2 separate regions of the Homo sapiens genome follow, and region 2 is linked to region 1. Evidence: promoter capture Hi-C in 16 types of primary human blood cells and fetal thymus (Javierre and others, 2016). All regions are on one chromosome and are shown on one strand. The core of a region is centred on a gene start or on the middle of the fragment in contact, and the rest is flanking DNA. Distances in the headings are between cores, read along the strand shown.

Region 1 (5,421 bases), core at 628-3,127:
CTGAAAGGTAAAGTTTACTTAAGATGAGAACCTTGGCCTTAGAATTTTGGCTCTGCTGCTCAAAGCTGCCCCTTAGGGGAGGTCCTTGCTCAGGATTTTAGGCAAAGCATGGCCTGAAATGGGAGACATCCCTTGTGGACACTTGGAAATATATAGTGATTTTAGACCACTGGCTTTTAGTGCCTCAGGACCAGGGATGAGACACTAAGTGACAACTGTCCCACCCAAAACACCAAAGAATCCCCTAAGAAGGAGCATCAAGATCTTTGAGTGCCCCCATGTCTGCAGCTCCAGACACTTCCATGGTGCCTCTTACCGGGTTATGTAATATCAGCTCCTTGAGTGCTTGTACGTCCTCGTTAAAAGTAGCTGACATGAGAAAAGCCTGGTAAATCCGGGGCAAGTGACTGAAATGAAAGAATCCAATCAGATTCCAGCTCCAAGGGCCGCTAATTGTAGTAACTGGCTTCCAGCCACCCCGCTCTCGTCCCAACTCCTACTCACAGATGTTTCCACTAGGAATCACACCCACCTCTGCCTTACCAGAGGAGACTCTTGAGCTCTTCTTCAAAGCCAAAGGAAAAAAGAAGGTCAGCTTCGTCCACCACCAAAAGCTCCAGGGAGTCACGAAGTTTCAGGCTGTCTTGCTGCAAGTGGCTTAATATGCGAGATGGGGTCCCTACTACCACATCTGGCTTCTCCATCAGCACAGCTCTGGAGGTGGACAAGACATCAGTATCAGGCAGAATGTAGCAGCTGGGATCTCACCCTGGATTTGCTCTCTTTTTTGCCACACACAAACCCAACCCCACAACACTGTGTAGCTTCATTCAGGTACAGCTTTGCTGCTTTTACCCACCTCTGAGAGACTGAGTCTTCAGCAGCTGAGACATTGGCCACTCGGACATCCCGAGCACAGTAGGTAGCCAGCTGCTGAATCATGGACTGTGCTTGCCGTGCCAGCTCCTTGGTAGGAACAAGAACAAGGCCTCTCACTGCCTGTTCTACCACCGGACCTGTCTGTAAGAATATGAATTAAAGACTTTAGCCAGCAGTGCACATCACTGTGTCCACGTGTCTCTACCCCTTCCAGCCTACCTGACCCATCTGCTGCAACACTACTTAGCAGTACTTTGATCATCTATCACTCTGCCCGCCTCAGAATGCAGAGTGGAGAGTTCTTTCCCCAGGCACTGACCCTCAAAAAGAATAACGTACTCTGATGTTTATGAAGCTACTTTAAATATACTAGTTATGAAGCTAAATTCTCACAATAATTCTGTAAGTAGAAAAGATAGATGTGCTCCCTTTTTATGTAAGAAAGAAAAGAAAGTGCTTTGTCGAAGATTACGCAAAGGTTGGTGGTAGCAGGGCCGGACAAGGATCCAGGTAACCTGAACTCCAGCCCAGAGTGTTTGCCACAACAGCACCAGGTTCTCAGGCCGGCCTGCACGGGTACAGGGCCAAGAGAAAACCTCAGACAAACGGGAACCGCCCTTCCCAGGCTTTTGGAGCTTGCCTCCTTCCTCCCCTCAGCTCTCTCGTTACCCACCGCCTTCCTATGGAGCAACAGCTGCAGCATCGGAATAGCATAAGCGGCCGTCTTCCCGGAGCCCGTGCGGGCCCGAGCCAGGAGGTCCTTCCCTTCTAGGGCCAGTGGGATGGCCTTCTCCTGGATCAGCGTAGGTCGCGACCAGCCCAGATCGGTGACAGCCTAGGAGACCAGGAGTGCGGTTTAAGCGGCGTGAAGAGCGATGGCGCGCCCCGCAGAGCCCGTAAGCCGGCTCCCCAGCCCTCGCGTGTACCTGAAGGAGCCGGGGATCGAGGCCCATGTGTTCGAAGCCCAGTGCTTCAGAGTCCTCCATGGCGCTGCTCAGTAGCGCAGCACGCACGCGCTGCAGGAAAAACGCCACCGACGCGAGCGGGAGCAAAGCAACAACCAATCGGCTTCGGAGACGAAGTCACTTCCCGGAAGTGCTGGCGGCCTAGGCTTCCGGTACTCGGACGGAGCTCTGCGACTGCGCAGTCCCTAGGACTGGGTCTAGTAGGAGGCGGTGGAGCGGCCGTGCTGGGGTCGACGGGGTACTTTGGACTACAGAGCCGCTCCACTGGCTCTTCCGGCGTTCCCGGACGCCGCTGACGCACCTGATTCTCGCGACCTGCAGGAGAAGCCTCGGCCGGGGCGAGGGCCGAGGTCGTGACGGGCATGACCGTCTCTCTGCTTGGTTAGGGTTAGTGTCCCGCCGGGCACATCACCCTATGAATGGAGCCACTGAGATAGACTGGGCTGAGGAGAACCGGTTGGAATAATGAGCCATGGCAGCAACTGCCTGAGAGAGAGGACCGGCGGGTTGCTGTAGGGCTCCCTAACCGGACTGCCTGTCAGAAACCTGCACAGCTTGGTTTCTGTTCTTTGTGTCCCAAATCTGACTCGGGTCACCAGTTAAGACCCGTGTCAGACTTCTGACCTACAGACTTGCGTCGTTTTAAGCCAGTAAATTTGTGGTAATTTGTTACAGTAGCAATAGGAAAATAATACAGGTGAGGACTAAGAATCCTAATCACAAATCTTTTTTTTTTTTTGAGACATGGTCTGACTGTCACCCAGGCTGGCGCGATCTCAGGCTCAAGTGGTCCTCCCACCTCAGTCTCCTGGAAAGCTAAGACTACAGGCACGCACCACCACGTCCAGTTAGCGTGTATGTATGTATGTACGTACGTGTGTGTGTGTGTGTATGTGTATATATGTAACTCCTCCTCCCCTCCCCCCTCCCCTTCTCTTCTTTTCTTTCTAGATGGGGTTTCGCCACGTTGCCCAGGACGGTTTTGAACTCCTGGGGCCAAGCGATCTGCCTTCCTCGGCCTCCCAAAGTGCTGGGATTGCAGGTGCGAGCCACTGCTCCTGGCCCATAAGTCTTTCAGTGTAGAAGAGGGAAGCAGAAGAGGTCAAAGTGGTGCCATGTGAGAGCTCAACCCACCCTTGCTGGAGGAAGGGAGCCAGAGCCAAGCTGGAAAAGGCAAGGAAACAACCTTTGTGATTACATTAGGCCCATCCAGATGATCCAGGATAATTTATTTTACAGTCATCTGATTAGCAACTTAATTCTCTTCTGTCATGTTAGGTAACATATTCATATGTTTCAGAGTGGTAGGCCATTATTCTACCTACCATACCACCCAACACAAATCTACATTAAGACTATATCTGAGTGTTGCACAGGAATCTATGTCAACAAGCTTCCAGGATGATCCTGTGCATCCTATCTGATGCAGCCCAGCATCTGAGTACCAGAGACTAGCATCTGGCTGTTAGGTTAGGAGAGATCAGCTCATGCACCAACAGGTAGTCATGCTGGGACCAAATGATGAAGATAGGTACAACTAGTCCCAGTGAGAGCTGGGGAATTGGGCTGGGATAATAGAGGATGTTAAGAATGGAGTGTCCCCTCAACCCCAGAACTTTTTTTTCTTTTTTTGTGGTAAGGAGGGAGAAGGCTGTTTGGTAAGGATGTTGTAAACTCTGAGAAAGCAAGAATTTCAAAAGTCAAGGGTAGTATTGGGGGGAAAATCACTAGAATTTGTGTGTGTGTACCCTAACTACTGTTTTGGTTTTGTTTTTGTTTTTTAGAAGGAGTCTCACTCTGTCGCCCAGGCTGGAGTGCAGTGGCATGATCTCAGCTCACTGCAAGCTCCACCTCCCGAGTTCACGCCATTCTCTTGCCTCAGCCTCCCGAGTAGCTGGGACTACAGGCACCTGCCACCACGCCCGGCTAATTTTTTGTATTTTTAGTAGAGACAGGGTTTCACCGTTGTTAGCCAGGATGGTCTCGATCTCCTGACCTTGTGATCCGCCCGCCTCGGCCTCCCAAAGTGCTGGGATTACAGGCGTGAGCCACCGCGCCCAGGCCCTAACTGCTGTTTTTTAAAAAACTTTTTAGGTCACAACCTATCTGTAAATATGACACACCAGTATGGAAATCCTTATTCTTCTCACAGCCACCAGCTATTGGCCCATCCACTGACTATCCCAATTCCACCTGCCTTATCAGTGGAAAGGTGAAATGTATGCCCACTTTTTCCTCACACCATTCCCCTTTCTATCAAAAACTACCAAGAGAAACCCAGGACCTACCAAAATAGTTAAGATGTGCTCCACTGTGTCTACTGCCAGCCAAACCTGTTGAAGGCTGGCTCAACCCTAATCTGTGCCTTCCTGTCTTCTCACAAACGTAGTCTGATTTGCTGGCTAGATTTCTAGTAACAGCCACAGAGCAGAAATGTGTCCCTTCCCAATATGTCACATAATCCCCAAGAGCCTCAGGCCAGAAGTCCACAACATGTAACTAGTTCAAAGGATAAAATTTTTCTCTGCATTAATTCTAACATGAGGAATACTGAAAACTCTTTTAAACATCTGAAGAATTTCAGCAATTCACAATTCACCTTACTGGAGTGTTACACTGTCATCCAGATTTAGAAACAGGAGGATATAAAACTATTAAATGGAAAAGCCTAGAGAACTAAATTGCATTTTTTTTTTTTTTTCTGAGACAGAGTCTCCCTCTGCCCCCCAGGCTGGAGTGCAGTGGCTCGATTTCTGCTCACTGCAACCTCCTCCCGGGTTCAAGCGATTCTCCTGCCTTAGCTTCCTGAATAGCTGGGATTACAGGCACACACTACCATGCCTGGCTAATTTTTATACTTTTAGTAGAGAGGGGTTTTCACCATGTTGGCCAGCCTGGTCTCAAACTGCTGACCTCAGGCGATCCCCCTGCCTTGGCCTCCCAAAGTGCTGGGATTATAGGCGTGAGCCACCCCACCTGGCCCTAAATTGCATTTTTTTTTTTGTTTTTTTTTTTCAGATGGGATCACTGTTGCCCAGACTGGAGTGCAGTGGCACGATCATGGCTCACCGCAGCCTTGACCTCCCGGGCTCAAGTGATCTTTCCACCTCAGCCTCTCAAGTAGCTGGGACTATAGGCATGTGCCACCAGCTAAATTTTTTGTATTTTTTGCAGAGACAAGATTTCGCCATGTTGCCCAGGCTGGTCTCGAACTCCTGGGCTATAGGGATCCACCCACCTTGGCTTCCCAAAGTGCTAGGATTACAGGCGTGAGCCACCGTGCCCAGCCCACATGTATTTTTAAGAGTAAAAATAGCCAGGCACAGTGGAGTATACCTGTAGTACCAGCTACTTGGGAGGGTAAGGTAGGAGGATCACTTGAACCTGGGAGCTCAAGGTTGCTTTGAGCTGTGATGGCACCACTGCACTCCAGCCTTGGGGACAGAGCAAGACCCCATCACCTGTGCCCGGCCAGCTCACACCTGTAATCCCAGCACTTTGGGAGGCGAGACGGGTCACCTGCGGTCAGGAATTCAAGACCAGCCTGGTCAACATGGTGAAACCCTGTCTCTACTAA
Region 2 (5,421 bases), core at 831-3,330, 520 kb after region 1:
TGGCTGAGTCCTCTCCTTGGTGGCAGCCACCCCATGGGTGACCACCAGTTCCTTCCCGGGTGCTGGGAGTTCCCACCCTGCCCTGTGGGCCTTCTCTGGGTCCCATGATGCACTCCCCCAACCCGCTGGGCAGGCTTCAGTATGAGGAGGCTCTGGTACTCAGTAAACGTCTGTGAGCTAACACACCTCCAGCTGAGAAAGGAGTCCATAGGAAGTAGCCCTCATGGGTCAGAAAGGACTTAGGGGACTCAGGAAGATGGAAGAAAACCCCTCCGAGGTTGCGGCACACCAGACCGCTATGGTTTTCTGCCTCCTGGACTCTTACTGGCCTGTATTTTATCACAGGCGAGATCACATTGCACATTCAGTTTTGAATCTAGCTATTTTCACCCAACCTAATCTCATAAGCATTTTCCTGTGTGCTCTAAATGCTCATAAGCTTCATTTTAAATGTCTCCATTATGTCCACTCCCTCACTTGGACCTAGGCCAAAGGCACCTCTGTTTGAAGCATCCAATGAAGGCCCTTCAGAGCCCAGGCCAGGTCTTGCCCAAGGTGGGGGAGCGGCGGCACACAGGGGCCAGCTCTCCAGGCTGCAGATGCCTGCCTGGTGGCTCCTGCTCTCCCGCACTCACTGGTGACCAGGACAACATCTCTTGCACCTCAGCTTTCTCATCTACAAAGCAGAGCCAGGATTAGAGTTGAAGCTGAAAGAAGGGGGACCCTGTTGCCAGGCTGCTCCAGCTCCCCTCAGCAGCATCAGAGCCCTGAGCCCTGAACCACCAGCCAAAACTTGTCACCCAAGGGCTTTGCTGCTGGGGTGATGGGACATCCAGGGGGTCCTGAGACAAGGGGGTCCTTTGGGTTCTTGCATGCCTGACACCCAACATCAGGAGTGGGCGTGGCTGGTGGGGCATCACTGGGTGCCCTGAAGCTGGGCTCTTGGTTCTGGCCCCTGGTGTGGCCCCCAGGGCAGGGGAACGGCTGAGCTGTTGGGATGGAGCAGAAACCAAAGGCCAAAGGTTTTTATAACTCATTCAAGGTCACCAAGCAAGCCAGAACAGAGCCAGCACAAGACCCTGGGGCTGGGAAGTCTGGGCCTGCACTCCCTGCCTCCCACCTAGAGCAGAGGCAGCAGCCTGTGTCACCCCAAACCAGGCCCCAGGCCCCAGCAGTGGTCCCATCTCTGGGTGACTTCTTGCCCACAGCAAGGTGCCCTTGGCCCTACCCACACATGGCTGACCTCCACGCCAGGACTGTCCAGGCTCGGCTCTTTCTAGGCCCCGTAGACCCCATCAGCCTCCACCAGCATTTGTTGACCCAGCCTAAGGACAGGTGGTCTGCACACCCAGGGCCATTGCTAATCAGGCCACCTCCCCCAAGGCCTTCCACCTTCCAGACCCAACTTAGGCTTTATTCCACCACCTGGCCCTCCATCCGGGCTTCCTAGGCTCTGGCCAGTCCTGCTCCTCCCTCCAGAGCCATGACCAGTCGCCGGCCCAGGACAGACCGGGTGCAACTGAGGACCCTCCCGGTGGTCACCTGATCGTACTGGGGGTATCAGCCGGACACCCCGCCTCCAGAACCCGCTGCCTCTGTCCAGAGCGGCCCAGCCCCAGCAGGCTGGCAGCTCGGTGCAAACAACGGGATGCAGCGGGCGGGATGCGAGCCCCACGATCCCTGGGTCGGAAGCCAAGGGCTTAAGCCCCCACGTTCTTTCTGGCTCGCGGCGGGCACTTCGTGCGCCCCACCTTCCCCGCAGTTCTGAGAGAGGCGGTAGCAGGGTTCAGATGGAGGGAAGGACAGGGCGCGGAAAGGGGAGGGGACTCGAGGGGGGCCAGGGGGATGGGGGAGAGGGGTGAAAGGTGAGCGATGGAAAGAGAACCCGGGCTGGAGAGGGGAGAGGCTGAAGGCAGGGAAAGAGTGGCCACGGCCTCACCTGTGCGGGGCCCGGGTCGGTCCGCCTCGGGCAGCAGCAGCTCGGCGCGGGCAGCCTCCCCAGGCATGGCCTGGCCGTGCGCCCGCCCGTCCCTCAGTCCTTCCGACCCTCCGTCAGTCCGTGCCGCCGCCCCGCCGAGCCTGCGCGGCCACCGCCCCTCGGCCGGGCGGTGGGGGCAGTGGGTGACGTCAGGCCGCCCCGCCCGCCTGTCCCAGCGAGTGAGCGTGCGCGGGCTCGCCAGGCACTGCGGAGGGCGTAGGGGGGGCTCCCTCCCCGCCCCCACCCCACCCGGCTGTGGCCTCCCTCTCGCTGTGGGCGGTTTCGTGGGGGAGCGGGGGTGGGCGCCTGCGCCCGGTCCCACCCTTTCCACAGCATTTACGAGGGAGGGTTTCAGGGCCAATTGGAAGCTGGGTTGCCTCAGGGTGGCATTCGCCCGTGGCCAGGAAGAGGCGGGGACGCCCCTAGAACCCTGGTTGTGGGAGGCTGGGGAGGTGGTTGGGATTCTGGGATGCTCGGAGCGCTTTGGGTGGAGTTGGCGGCGCAGCCTCCTTCCCCGCTGACCAAGCAGAGGGTGCAGGGCCTGGGGAGGGAGGGGGCCCCGCCCAGCCCGATGCCTCCATGCAAAAGGTGAGCTGGAGCTGCAGCTCTGGAGTGATTGGCTGGTCCTGGCAGTCGTCGGTCTCCGTGGCAACCGCCTCCTGTCTCCATGGCAACCAGGGATGGAGCCGACGAGAGCGCACCAGGGAAGGCGACCCGGATGGGTCGGTCTCCAGGTCTCTAGGCAACTCGGTGATCTGTCCTATCATCTCCCCTCCACCCCCACACTAGGCAGTAGAAGGAAAAGGAAGAAAGTGTTTCCCTCTATTCCTGGCAGCACCCTCTGCCACACCTCCCAGGAGGAAGCCCGCCCCGTGAATTTCCTGAAATGCCTCTTGCTTTCACACAGGCTACTGCGCCACCCAGATTCACTGAGCACCCCTCCTCCCCCGTGCCAGGCACCAGGGAGACAGATGAATGAGACATTGTCATCACCCCTGACTGGGGTGGGGGGAATCAGAGTAGCCATTGTCACAGGCAGGGAGGGAGGTTTCAACATCCTCAGTCTTCTGTGGGTTCTAACTTTGAGCTCATGAAGCCAGGGGCTGCCCTCTGACTCCCCCAGACCTGCCTCAAGGCTCAGTGCTACACACCTGGCTGCCTGCTGGGCATCTCTCCCCGCTGTACCCCAGGAGTCAGACACACCACACCATTAGAATTAACATCAACTTCAAACAATCTCTTCCAGAAAACAAAAGAGAAGGGGACACTTCCTAACTCATTTTATAAGGCAAGAAATATCCTGATGTCAAAACTAACAATGTGTCGCCAGGCGCGGAGGCTCACGCCTGTAATCCCAGCACTTTGGGAGGCCGAGGCTGGCGGATCACGAGGTCAGGAGATCGAGGCCATTCTGGCTAACGTGGTGAAACCCCGTCTCTACTAAAAATACAGAAAATGAGCCGGGAGTGGTAGCGGGCTCCTGTAGTCCCAGCTACTCAGGAGGCTGAGGCAGGAGAATGGCGTTAACCCGGGAAGCGGAGGTTGCAGTGAGCCGAGATCGCACCACTGCACTCCAGCCTGGGCGACAGAGCGAGACTCCGTCTCAAAAAAAAAAAAAAAAAAAAAAAAACTAACAAAGTGTCAATACACCCCAAGACCCCCAAAACGAAAACTGCAGACCAGCATCTCTCATGAATTCAGGCACAAAAATTCTCAATATTGGCAAATCAAATATAATGATGTATAAAAAAAATACACCATGACCAAGTGGAATTTATTCCACGTATGCAAGGCTGGTTTGACAGTTGAAAATCAATCAACAATACTCCAGAACACCAACAGGCTAAAGAAGAAAAATTTTGGTATCAGTTGACACAGAAAATGTGTTTGACATAACCAACATCATTCATGATTTAAAAAAAAACACTTTCAGCAAGTTAAAAATAAACTTGATAAAGATCTTATATAAAAAACTTATACAGCTAACATCATACTTAATGGTGAAAGACTGAATGCTTTTTAAGATTGGGAACAAGGCAAGGGTGTCCGCACTCACCACTCTTTTCAACATATTATTGGAATTTCTAAACCTTGCAATAAAGCAAGAAGAAATAAAAGGCAGATTGACTTCCAGAATGAAAGCATGGGGAGTTCTGCTGAGCAGCTCCCCAGTGAAACTGGTAAAAATTATTATTATTAATTTTAATTTTTTAATTTGAGATGGAGTCTTGCTCTTTTGACCAGTCTGTAGTGCAGTGGCATGATCTCGGCTCACTGCAACCTCTGTCTTCCGGGTTCAAGCGATCCTACTGTCTCAGCCTCCCGAGCAGCTGGGACTACAGGTCCCACCATGCCTGGCTAATTTTTGTATTTTTAGTAGAGACGGGGTTTCACCCTGTTGGCCAGGCTGGTCTTGAACTCCTGACCTCGTGATCCACCCACCTTGGCCTCCCAAAGTGTTGGAATTACAGGTGTGAGCCACCACACCCAGCCTGGTAAAAATTATTAAAAAAAAAAAAAAACAAACTGAGTTGAAAGGTCAGCAAGCCAGGCGTGGTGGCTCATGCCTGTAATCCCAGCACTTCAGGAGGCTGAGGTGGGCAGATCATGAGGTCAAGAAATCAAGACCTTCCTGGCCAACATGGTGAAACCCTGTCTCTACTAAAAATACAAAAATTAGCCGGGCGTGATGGTGCATGCCTGTAGTCCCAGCTACTCGGGAGGCTGAGGCAGGATAATTGCTTGAACCTGAGAGGCATAGGTTGCAGTGAGCTGAGATCGTGCCACTGCACTCCAGCCTGGTGACAGAGTGAGACTCCGTCTTGGGAAAAAAAAAAAAAAAGAAAGGGCCCAACAAAATAAAAGTGAAAGAGAGAACAAATTAAAGCTTCTGGAAATGGTCTGAAGGGCAAACAGCAAATGAAGAAACATCTGTTCAAGGCTGGATGTGGTGGCTCACGCCTGTAATCCCAGCATTTTGGGAGGCCAAGGTGGGCGGATCACTTGAGATCAGGAGTTCGAGACCAGCCTGGCTAACATGGTGAAAATCCATCTCTACTTAAAAAAAATACAAAAATTAGTTGGGTATGGTGATGCACACCTGTAATCCTACCTACTAGGGAGGCTGAGGCAGGAGAATTGCTTGAACCCTGGAGGCGGAGGTTCGTTGCAGTGAGCCGAGATCCTGCCACTGCACTCCAGCCTGGGTGATGGAGTGAGACTCTGTTTCAAAAAAAAAAAAGAAAGAAACATCTATTCAAGAAAATCTATGAGAATTTAGTAAGAAAGGCGAGAGTCTGTGGTATTTGAATCGAGACAACTCACTCCAGCAAAGGGAGGTGGACTCCACACCAGACTGGTGTTGCCAAGAACACAGGCTTCTTTTCTTCCATCTCCCGGTCAGAGGGCTTTCTTACTGGGAGGACGGAGTACTTCAGCATATC

What was found. The method cuts DNA at HindIII sites, captures the fragments that hold promoters and counts their contacts. A CHiCAGO score of 5 or more calls a contact.
Region 2: a contact is called between the fragment with the promoter of NACAD here and the fragment with the promoter of DDX56 in region 1, in 12 of 17 cell types (fetal thymus, naive B cells, non-activated CD4 T cells and 9 more). The highest score is 9.2, in fetal thymus.

The regions. Positions count from the first base shown.
Region 1 is chr7:44,572,031-44,577,451 of GRCh38, forward strand. DDX56 (DEAD-box helicase 56) reads right to left here and starts at 1,878. Exons shown (of 14, transcript NM_019082.4): 1 at 1,806-1,878; 2 at 1,553-1,714; 3 at 860-1,020; 4 at 544-714; 5 at 317-407. The coding sequence starts at 1,865. RefSeq lists an enhancer at 1,495-1,644. The HindIII fragment of the contact is 6,359 bases long and covers 1-3,235 here.
Region 2 is chr7:45,086,889-45,092,309 of GRCh38, forward strand. NACAD (NAC alpha domain containing) reads right to left here and starts at 2,081. Exons shown (of 8, transcript NM_001146334.2): 1 at 1,940-2,081. The coding sequence starts at 2,006. The HindIII fragment of the contact is 4,426 bases long and covers 438-4,863 here.